Linked DNA regions of Homo sapiens: all the other regions are linked to region 1. Evidence: promoter capture Hi-C in 16 types of primary human blood cells and fetal thymus (Javierre and others, 2016). All regions are on one chromosome and are shown on one strand. The core of a region is centred on a gene start or on the middle of the fragment in contact, and the rest is flanking DNA. Distances in the headings are between cores, read along the strand shown. Region 1 holds the start of GJD4 (gap junction protein delta 4). Region 2 overlaps CCNY-AS1 (CCNY antisense RNA 1). Region 3 overlaps LOC107984220 (a long non-coding RNA gene).

Evidence for each region. Contacts are between HindIII fragments. The CHiCAGO score rates a contact against its expected background, and 5 or more counts as called.
Region 2: a fragment that was not itself captured here is called in contact with the fragment with the promoter of GJD4 in region 1 in 1 of 17 cell types (neutrophils); the score reaches 7.1 in neutrophils.
Region 3: a contact is called between a fragment that was not itself captured here and the fragment with the promoter of GJD4 in region 1, in 1 of 17 cell types (neutrophils). The highest score is 7.3, in neutrophils.

What each region holds. Positions count from the first base shown.
Region 1 is chr10:35,603,359-35,606,953 of GRCh38, forward strand. GJD4 (gap junction protein delta 4) reads left to right here and starts at 1,983. Exons shown (of 2, transcript NM_153368.3): 1 at 1,983-2,273. The coding sequence starts at 2,210. GJD4-AS1 (GJD4 antisense RNA 1) reads right to left here. Exons shown (of 2, transcript NR_199600.1): 2 at 1,204-2,607. The HindIII fragment of the contact is 9,701 bases long and covers 1-2,679 here.
Region 2 is chr10:35,319,871-35,323,878 of GRCh38, forward strand. CCNY-AS1 (CCNY antisense RNA 1) reads right to left here. Exons shown (of 4, transcript NR_186477.1): 3 at 1,683-1,800. It also overlaps a transcript of CCNY not described here. Among named protein-coding and RNA genes, the nearest start is that of CCNY-AS1, 15 kb to the right of the region's middle. The HindIII fragment of the contact is 1,752 bases long and covers 433-2,184 here.
Region 3 is chr10:35,302,580-35,306,486 of GRCh38, forward strand. It overlaps LOC107984220 (a long non-coding RNA gene), which reads right to left. Exons shown (of 3, transcript XR_007062113.1): 1 at 3,750-3,907. It also overlaps a transcript of CCNY not described here. Among named protein-coding and RNA genes, the nearest start is that of CCNY-AS1, 32 kb to the right of the region's middle. RefSeq lists a silencer at 2,238-2,297. The HindIII fragment of the contact is 2,396 bases long and covers 262-2,657 here.

The DNA.
Region 1 (3,595 bases), core at 733-3,232:
CCCAGGCTAGAGTACAGTGGTGTGTGATCTGGGCTCACTGCAACCTCCGCCTCCTGAGTTCAAGTGATTCTCCTGACTCAGCCTCCCAAGTAGCTGGGACTACAGGTGCCCACCACCATGCCCGGCTAATTATTGTATTTTTAGTAGAGATGGGGTTTCGCCATGTTGGCCAGGCTAGTCTTGAACTCCTGACCTCAGGTGATCCACCCACCTCAGCCTCCCAAAGTGCTGGGATTTACAGGCGTGAGCCACCGCGCCTGACCAGAGTTAGATTTCCAAGTAAAGCAAAATGTCACCTAGCAGGAGAGAGGAAAAAAAGAGAAAGAGAAAAAAGACAAGGAATGGGGATGGGGTAGACTTCAAGGAGGAAGAGCAAAGGTGACCAGGATGAGAAGGGAGATGGGTGGGCATGGGCTGCTCAGAAGATGCCCTGAAGGGTGGGACCAGAGGAGCCAACCCTGAGAAGCGCCTGTCACTGACACTGGGTCATTCTTTACATTTCAAAATCATTTTCACATCTCTGGTCACATTTGCATATCACAGTCACTGTGAGTGGGTGAAGAACACATTCTTTTTTTCTGCTTCACTGATGAGAAAACCGAAGCATGAAAAGCTGCAGTGATTTGCTCATGGTCGCGCAGGGCTAATTTATTCCACATTTGGGATGGGCTATTTCTATCACACAGCAAGAGTCAGTAATTGCTTTCCTGATATTTCATTTTTTTTTTAAAGCCAATACCATGAGCAGTCTATTAGGAGACAAATTCTCCTTTATTTTATACTTACACCCTGTGACTATTTCAATATTTTTACTTAACTACAATTTCTCAAATTTCCTTGCTCATGTCGAAGCATTTGACTAAAATATAGCAAAACCACTGTTCCTTTCAAGGGGGTCAAAACGTTTTCCGTGGATGGGAGCATGTCATGTGAGCAAAGATGAAAGTAGCTTTGTTGCACTCTTCTGGGAATCTTTCTAGGGATATTACTAAAGTCAAGAATAGATCAGAAATGAAGAAAAGATGGGGATATAAAGAATAGCTTTCATGGAAAATTGAAATCATTCCTTTTAAAGTTTACAATTTCCACCCTGATCATAGATCCCCAACCCTGCAGGATGGGTTCTTCCCAGATATGAAGGTGGCTGCAGCGATAGGATTTTGACGCAACTGTGATTGATGTCAGCAGGTCCAGACCGTGATATTTCATGACAGATTTAACAGACATTTATTAAGTAGATTCAATGGGAACAGCTCCAGGCTAGATGGGGCTGGGAGATACAAAGGGAAGATGTAATCTGTGAAGGTCGTAGAGGCCAATTAGGGATTGAAATCCCACGGATATGGGTTGTCGTACACCCACTTCACACCAGTTGCTCTTATTCTACACCATCATTTCACATAAGCCTCCCACAAATGGCAAGTGGAATGGCATGATTCTCCTTATTGCAAGATGAGGCTATCTGGAAGGATCCAATGACTTCCCCAGTGAGTAGGGGGCTGCCCCGGGCTTTGCACCCAGGCTTTTGTCTCCAAGCGAAGAGTTGTCACTCACTGCACAGGAAGCAGCAGGAGAATAACCAAGTCACGGTCTAAAGTTGGGACACCCAACTGAGTTTCAGATTTCTGCCTGCACCAATGACACAGGAATTCAGAATAAGGGCGAGATCCTTGTGGGTTCGTGTGATGGTGGCATGGCGATTCATGCTTGATTGAGAAGACAAAACGTGAACACTTTAAGGGCTTCTTGCACAAGTGAAGTGGTTGTGGAAATGTTTTCAAGGAGGAAATGCCTTTTTAATAGAGAAATTTACTTGGCTAGTTAGCAGAAGTTTTCTTTCTTGGGTTAAAAGTAGTTGCTGCTATTATATCCTGAAGCATCTGGCTGTCCTGGTGGGGACATATGAGCGCTGCCACAGGCCGGGAATATCCCAGGCGAGTAAGAATAGCCCACAATAAGAGATGACTGCTGCTTGCTCTGCTGGTCACTGCAGTTGTCAGGAATGTTTCGCCTCAGAGGCAAACGGCTTAGGGCCGTCTCAACTTGGAGACAGAAAAACCCACCTCCTACTCCTGGCTCAGACCTTTGCTTTCTTATCTCCAGCTCACACCTTTAAGTCTTATGTAGTTAAAGGACATTTATCCGCCTCCTTGGAGAACACAGCCCTCCAGTGTCTCCTGCAGCCTGGAGCCTGGGACATTCTGGAAGCATGGAAGGCGTGGACTTGCTAGGGTTTCTCATCATCACATTAAACTGCAACGTGACCATGGTGGGTGAGTATTGGGACCATCTCCAAACTCCTGCGCTGTTTTTATTTCCACTGCCATGGTGGAATTGAGTCCTTAAAGGGTCCAGGTATTTACTCATTTTCAGTGTGCAAGCACCAAGCTGAAAGTCCACCCACTCCCAAAAGAAAGGGCTGTGCCTTTCTGGAGGGAAGAGAGCTGAGGCTTCTAGTTTCTTTGAATGGTTCCGCGGTTCCTCCGTCATGTAAGGGAGTCTTGCGTTTGACATTGTTCTCTCACAGATCATCCTGTGCTGACACTGGGGTGCTGACTCCAAAGACCAAAGCAGGTGGAGGGGTGTTTGTGTGCAACCCTGGTGTGGCTACGTTACCAGGAAAAGGAACAGAACAACAAATGTTAATCAGAAGGTGATACCTTTAGGTTTTATTCTGGAAGCTTGGTTTTTTTTTTTTGTTTTTGGAGACAGAGTCTCACTCTGTTGCCCAGGCTGGAGTGCAGTGATGCAATCTCAGCTCACTGCAACCTCTGCCTCCCGGGTTCAAGTGATTCTCCTGCCTCAGCCTCCCGAGTAGCTGGGACTACAGGCGCCTGCCACCACGCCCAGCTAATTTTCTGTGTTTTTAGTAGAGACGGGGTTTCACCGTGTTAGCCAGGATGGTCTCGATCTCCTGACCTCGTGAGCCACCCGCCTTGGCTTCCCAAAGTGCTGGGATTACAGGCGTGAGTTACCACGCCTGGCCTGGAAGCTTAATTTTTAAGGAGTAGCCATTTCTCTTGTGCACTTTAAACCAAATCCCAAGTTTAGTTATTTTTTTTAACAAAGAAAATAATAGATTTTTGTTTAATGCAGACGACTCACATTTTCAGAGAGGTATGGGGGTCAGAAAAGGATGAATATATGCCGGAGATGCAGTTGATACTTTTCTGGCTCATTATTTTGTAGATTTAGACAAAACCAACTTGATGTTAAAAGTTCAACTCAATGACTCATCACATAATGATATTATTCTTTGTTTGACTGTCTTTACATATTTATTTTTGTTTTGTTTTTATGATGTCAGGCGATGTTTCTCTCATCACAAAACACAATATTCACAAGTTATTTTGGCTGAGTTTTAAACATGTTTCGAAACAGTTGGCCGGTGCCATGAAAATAGGGCTTGACAGTTATTTTGGTTTTCTAGCTTGGTGTCATTCCTTCACGATACATTGAAGAAAGACAAGCCCCATTCATTCCTAATAACTGGAAAAGGGGAAGAGGAATTCTGAATGATTAAAAAATCTGAAAAATGGAATGTTCATAAAGAAATTCAATTTCAAGGGCCGTAGACTAACATTAAATACAAGCC
Region 2 (4,008 bases), core at 59-2,558, 280 kb before region 1:
ACCCGGGAGGCAAAGGCTGCAGTAAGCTGAGATCGCGCCATTGCACTCCAGCCCGGGAGACACTGTGACACTCTGTCTCAAAAAAAGAAAAAAGAAAAAAGCCCTATATATGCTAAGGAAATTTAATTATGAATTAAAACTTCCTGCAAAGAAACTTCAGACTGAGGTGGCTTCAGCAGTAAATTCTATCAAATATTTAAGGAAAAATAATAACAAACACACACAAACTCATTCTAAAAACAAAGAAAGATGACTTCTCTAGTCATTGTCTGAGCCCAGACAATGACATTGAAAGGAATACCTCACTGAATACAGTATACCTCACTGAATACAGATGCAAACATCCTTAGTTAAATTTTTGGCAAACTGAATTCAGCAATATATAACAAGGATAATGCATCATGACTAAGTGGGGTTTATCCCAAGAATGCAAGCTTGTTTTAACACTAAAAAAATCAACATACCTACCATATTAACAGAACAAAGGAGAAAAACCATATATGATTCTCTTATTAGATGCAGAAAAATAACAAAATTCGCCATCCATTCACAATTTTAAAACTCTTAGCAAACTGGAAATAGAAGGGACCTTCTTCATCCTGGTAGAGTACACAAGCTCTGAAAAACCTTCAGCTAACATTGTCTGTTAATGATGAACAACTGAATGCTTTCTCCTCAGATTGAAAATAAGGCAAGGATGTCCAGTCTCAGGATTTCTATTAAACATTACACTGGAAGTCCTAGCCAGTACAATAGGCAAGAAAAAGGCAAAGAAAACCATACAGATTGAAAAGAAGAAATAAAACTGTCTATCTGCAGATGACATGATTGTGTATGTAGAAACATTTAAGGAATCTTTATGAAAGGCAAATCAAAATAGTAAGTGACTTTAGCATAGGTTAATGCAAAAAAATATTTTCTGCATACTAGCAATAACCACCTGGAAATTTAAATAAAATATTTACTATAGTATCAAAAACAATACCTCTGGCTGGGCACGGTGGCTCATGCCTGTAATTCCAGCACTTTGAGAGGCTGAGAAGGGAAGATCACTTGAGTCCAGCCCGGGCAACACAGCAAGACCAAAAAAAAAAAAATTAGCTGGGTGTGGTGGTGCACACTGTCATCCCAGCTACTTGGGAGGCTGAGACAGGAGGACTGCTTGAGCTCAGGAGGTCAAGGCTGTAGTGAGCTATGATTATACCACTGCACTCCAGTCTGGGTGACAGAGTGAGGCTTTGTCTAAAAAAAAAAAAAAAAAATACACACACACACACACAAACACCATTTACTATAGTATCAAAAACATGGACTAGTTAGGGATAAATTTAACATAATACATGCAAGGCACCTATACAATTAAAACTATAAAAACATTGCTGAATGTTATGCTGAAAATTAAAGACGCAAATAAATGGAGATATACTATGTCTATGAACTACAAGACTAAATATGATGATGACCATTTTTCCCAAATTGTTCCACAGATACAATGTAATCTTAACTGAAATCCCAGCAGGGGTGGGGCACGATGGCTCACACCTATAATCCCAGCACTTTTGGAGGCTGAGGTGGGAAGACTGCTTGAGCCCAGGAATTCAAGATCAGCCTGGGCAATGTGGTGAAACCCCATCTCTACAAAAACAAACAGCAGCAAAATAGCCAGGTGTGGTGGTACGCACCTGTGGTCTCAGTTACTTGGAAGGCTGAGACAGGAGGATTGCTTGAGTCTGGGTGGTTGAGGATGCAATGACCTGTGATCATGCCACTGCACTTCAGTCTGGGTGACATAGTAAGACCCTGTCTCAAAAAAAAGAAAATCCCAGCAGGCACTTACATAACTTATTCTAAAATTTATATAAAAACACAAAGGACTTAGAATGCAAAAAATTTTTGAAAAAGAACAACAAAGTTGGAATATTCAAACTATCAAATTTCAAGACTGACTATAAAGCTACATTATTATTAAAGGATCAACATTTGGATCAATGGAACAAAATAAATGAACCCGCATGTCTATGGGCAAGTAATTTTTGACAAAGTGGCCACAGTAAGTCAATAGGGGAAAGACAGTCTTTTCAACAAATGGTACCGGAAAAACTGGATATCCATATGGGAAAAAATGAACATTGATTATTAACTTACTCATACACAAAATTCACCTCAAATTGGATCATGTACCTAAGCTTAAAAGGTAAAACTTGGATGGGTGCGGTGGCTCACGCCTGTAATCCCAGCACTATGGGAGAACGAAGCGGGTGGATCACCAGGTCAGGAGATCAAGACCATACTGGCCAACATGGTGAAACCCTGTCTCTACTAAAAATACAAAAATTAGCTGGGCATCGCAGTGCTTGCCTCCTGTAGTCCCAGCTACTTGGGAAGCTGAGGCAGAATTGCTGGAACCTGGGAGGCAGAGGCTGCGGTGAGCTGAGATCACGTCACTACACTCCAGCCTGGGTGACAGAGCAAGACTCTGTCTCAAAAAAAAAAAAAAAGGTAAAATTAAAATTTCTAAAATAAAACAGGAGAACATTTACATGATCTGAAGGGAGTCAAAGAGTTCTTAGATAATTGAATACACACACACAAAAAAACAAAAAAAGACAAGAGCTATAAAAGAAGATAGCAAAAAATTAGACTTTTACAAAGTTAAAGACTTCTGCTCTTCAAAAGACAATGCTAACAAAATGAAGACAAGTCACAGACTGGGAGAAAATAGTCACACAACACATATCTACATACCTGCCAAAGGTATTGTATCTGGAATATATGAAGACTTTTTAGCAACCCAACTAAATTGGAAAAGACACTGAATAGGCACTTTACAAAGATATATTAGTATCCAACATGCACACAAAAATATGTCAACATCATTAGCCATCAGGGAAATGCAAAGTAAAACCACAGTGAGATACCACTACGTATCCATTAGGATGGTGAAAATTAAAAAGACTGATAATAGCAAGTATTGGTGAGAATGTAGGGCAACTACAACTCTCATAACTTTACCGGTAGGATGTAAGATGGTACCAGGACTTTGGAAAACAGTTTGGCCATTTTTTATTTTTTTTGAGATGGAGTCTCGCTCTGTCGCTCAGGCTGGAGTACAGTGGTGTGAGCTTGGCTCAGTCTCACCTCCACCTCCCAGGTTCAAGCGATTCTCCTGCCTTAGCCTCCCAAGTAGCGGGATTACAGGTGTGTGCCACCATGCGTGGCAAATTTTTTTTGTATTTTTAGTAGACACAGGGTTTCGTCATGTTGGCCAGGCTGGTCTCGAACTCCTGACCTCAGGTGATCTGCCCGCCTCGGCCTCCCAAATTGCTAAGATTACAGGCATGAGCCACCGCACTCGGCTGCCATTTCTTTTAAAATTAAACATACACTTAGCATACAACCCAGTAGTCTTACTCCTAGATATTTACCCAAGAGAAAACATGTCCACACAAAAACTTGTACATAGATGTTCATAATGGCTTTATTCATAATAGACAAAACTGGACAAAGCCTAAATGTCCATCAACATTTGTGGTATATAAACAAATTGTGGTATATACATACACTGGAAAAATACTCAGTGATAAACAGAAATGAACCACTCATTCATGCAACATAGACAAGTCTAAAAACATTATGCTGAGGAAAAGAAACCTTACACACAAGAGTCTATACATTTTATAAGATCACATTTTTATGAGACTCTAGAAAAGACAAATCTGATCCACAGTGACAGAAAACAGATCAGGGCTTGCCTGGGACCAGGGACGAGTACCAGGGAATTTTGGGGTGATGGAAATGTTCTAGATCTTGATTGTGGTGATGGTGGTTACATGCGTATATTACTTTCTCAAAACTCATCAAACTGTGGCCTGGCGTGGTGGCTCCCACCTGTAATCCCAGCATGTCCGGAGGCCAGGGAAGGCAGATCACCTGAGGTCAGGAGTTTGAGACCAGCCTGGCCAACATGGTGAAACCCTGTCTCTACTAAAAATACAAAAATTAGCAGGG
Region 3 (3,907 bases), core at 210-2,709, 300 kb before region 1:
GGATTATAGGCATGAGCCACTGCGCCCGCCCCGACATGTTAATATTTTAAGATGAAGAACAAAACAGCCAACCTAAGAAAAACAACTAGCAGGCACCCAAGGGCATCTCAGGATGAAAAATCTGTGGCTGAACAATTCAATCTACATCATAGCCACTGAGAACAATATTAATTTCTCAATTAGTAGCAAGAGCAGAGAGATCATGAACACATAAGGCTGAGTAGAAAATTGCTAAAACATTTTGAGACATGCTAGCCTAAAAGCTTCTTGTTAGTATGGCATGCTTATTCAGTATAACCAAAACAATATTTATTAGAAATTATAAAGGTAAGGAGGCTGGGCACGGTGGCTCATGCCTGTAATCCCAGCACTTTGAGAAGCCGAGGCAGGAAGATTGCTTGAGGTCAGGAATTCCAGACCAGCTTGGGAAACATAGTGAGACCCTGTCTCTACAAAAATAAAAATAAAAATAATTACCTGGGATGTGTAGTCTCAGCTATTTGGGAGGCTGAGGCAGGAAGATCACTTGAGCCCAGGGATTCCAGGCTGCAGTGAGCCATGACTGCACCACTGCACTCCAGCATGGGTGACAGAGTAAGATCCTGTTTCTTTTTTTTTGAGACTGAGTTTCACTCTTGTTGCCCAGGCTGGAGTGCAATGGCATGACCTCGGCTCACCGCAACCTCCACCTCCTGGGTTCAAGCAATTCTCCTGCCTCAGCCTCCCGAGTAGCTGGGATTACAGGCATGCACCATGACGCCTGGCTAATTTTGTATTTTCAGTAGAGACGGGGTTTCTCCATGTTGATCAGGTTGGTCTTGAACTCTCGACCTCAGGTGATCCTCCCGCCTCAGCCTCCCAGAGTGCTAGGATTACAGGCGAAAGACCATGTTTCTTAAAAAGAAAGAGGAAAGAAGCCCAGGCATGGTGGCTCGTGCCTGTAATCCCAGCACTTTGGGAGGCCGAGGTGGGCAGATCACCTGAGGTCGGGAGTTCGAGACCAGCCTGACCAACATGGAGAAACCCCATCTCTACTAAAAATACAAAATTAGCTGGATGTAGTGGTGCATGCCTGTAATCCCAGCTACTCAGGAGGCTGAGGCAGGAGAATCCCTTGGACCTGGGAGGCGGAGGTTGCGGTGAGCCGAGATCGTACCATTGCACTCCAGCCTGGGCGACAACAGCGAAACTCCGTCTCAAAAAAAAAAAAAAAAAAAAAAAGAGGGAAGGAAGGAAGGAAGGAAAGAAGGAAGGAAGGAAAGAAAGAAAGGTAGATCTATGTCAAATAGAAAAAAACCTAGTCTTTCAAATTTTCCTAATAGATTAAAAGACAAACAAGAGCACAGATTACGATGTGGGGAAAACACTAAGATCCACCACTCTTTATCCACCCATCACAGTCAGCCTGGAATTAGAGCTAATTAGGAAGAAAGGAAAGACCATTCCTGATACCTGCTGGGTGCTAGCCACATGCTCCAGTTTCTCCGTCTCCTGCACCCGTGAATGGGCTTCTGGAAAGCACCAACCCCTCTTCGTCTTTCAGTAGCTTTGCACCTCCTGCACATGGGGGAGCTCAGCATAGGTTTGCTCAGTTCAGGTGACAGGTAGGTTAGAAATGGATTGGGAAAGGTGTTGAAAGTAAGGCTGAGGAGGTTACAATTTATAATCTAATAAGAGCCGTTGTAAGATCTTGAAAAGGCTTTTTTCTCCTTTTATTTTTTTTTTTTTTTTATTTTTTATTTTTTTTTGAGACGGAGTCTCGCTCTGTCGCCCAGGCTGGAGTGCAGTGGCGGGATCTCGGCTCACTGCAAGCTCCGCCTCCCGGGTTCACGCCATTCTCCTGCCTCAGCCTCCCAAGTAGCTGGGACTACAGGCGCCCGCCACTACGCCCGGCTAATTTTTTTGTATTTTTAGTAGAGACGGGGTTTCACCGTTTTAGCCGGGATGGTCTCGATCTCTTGACCTCGTGATCCGCCCGCCTCGGCCTCCCAAAGTGCTGGGATTACAGGCGTGAGCCACCGCTCCCGGCCTTTTTTCTCCTTTTAATTAAAAGTGGTTTGGTTAGCATATTGCAGGTTTTCTCAGCCACAGTACTATTGGCATGTGGAGCTAGATCATTTTTGTTTTGGGGGGCTGTCCTGTGCCTTGTAGGATGTTTAGCAGAATCCCTAGCCTCTACCCACTACATGCCAGTGGCATCCCCTAGTTGCAACAACCAAAAATGTCTCCTGGGGGCATAATTGCCCAGGTTGAGAACCACTAGGGTGTTAGGGGGAGTGCTGAGCCTCAAGGCAGGGGAGATCAGAGGAAGAAGAGCCAAAAAACGTGGGTGGATGGAAGAGACACTAATTCAAGTGTGGTCTAAGAGTAGTGATTCTCATCACTGTTGCCGTGTTGCACAGTATTTAGGAGCCTAATATACAAGTGTCATGTAGTATTGAACTAAAAATCCACAGGAACAATTCATGAGGCATTCCCGTTTGTTTCTTTTGGAAAAATATAAAATCTGACATTGCTTGGAGAAAACCGGAGACAGACTTGTCAGGAAAAGGTTATGGCCACGTGTCCTTTTGCCCGAAGACATTTATCCTTTACGTAACTGGCAATACCAAAAGTAAGCGTGCTTTTTAATGAAAATTGTCATTTTATGGTTACAAAGCTTTCGGTTTATTGTACAAGAGAAAAATTTCCTACAGTTAATGCTCTAATTCCCCCCTGCTAAGGAGTAAATTGTAAAAATACATGCTGTTACTCTTTGAAATGTGGAGTGATGTTCCTTCAAGTCTAGAGGATGCTGCATGAAATCAGCTTCAAGACAGGCTTGAGGTGACAAGAACATGAAATATATATTACATGCAAACACTTTGGTTTTGGAAATCTGCATGTTTATTCCAATGGCATCAGCTGATACTGTGTTCACTGTAACCTAGTAATGTCACAGCAGCATCTGGGGGCATATAATTGTGTCAGAGCTGCTGTTTACCCAGTTAAATGAGACAGAGATTAGGTAAGGTTTGTGCTACTTATCGTTCATTGCCATGGCTTCATCTTCCTAATCCTCCTTATTTTTACCCCTGCAAGAAAGAACAGTTCTAATATCTTCTTGTTTCTGAGTATTGATGATTGGGTTATGTGGATACTTCTGGGTAGATGTCCATTTGGAAAAGATGCTTGCTGAGTGCCCTTTGTACTGACAATGGTGGAAGAAATTTCCTGATTGGGATCTGGCTCTTGATATATGATCCTTAGAGGTAATGTCCCTGTGGATGGTGCTGCCAGTCTGACCCCTTGTAAGACTTCACAGATATGCTTGGGATCATTAGAGTGGGTTTCATTTCTATCACAGAAGGAGTTGATATAAGGTGCAGGAAATCTACTCCTATTTTCCAAAGTTAGTTTCCAGTACAGTAACACATCCTGTGTAATTTTTTACTTAAAATTCATGTTTCATATGCCATTTTTTTTCTTTATGAGAGACAGAGTCTCACTCTGTTGCCCAGCCTGGAGTGCAGTGGTGCAATCTCGGCTCACTGCAGCCTCTGCCTCTCAGGTTTAAGTGATTCTCCTGCCTCAGCCTCCTGAGTAGCTGGGATTACAGGCACACGCCACTACACCTGGTTAATTTTTGGATTTTTAGTAGAGACAGGGTTTCACCATGTTGGCCAGGTTGGTCTTGAACTCCTGACCTCAAGTGATCCACCTGCCTCAGCCTCCCAAAGTGCTGGGATTACAGGCGTGAGCCACCATACCTGGCCAACCATCTTGGATTTGTCATTCAGCACAGCATGGAAGTTGGCGCCAGGCATCTTGCTTCTTTGTACAATATTTCCATTTCCTGAGATCATGCCACTTGAGGGAGGCCTGCCTGGGTTTCCACCAGCTCCTTCCCTGGCTTTCGGTCCATTCC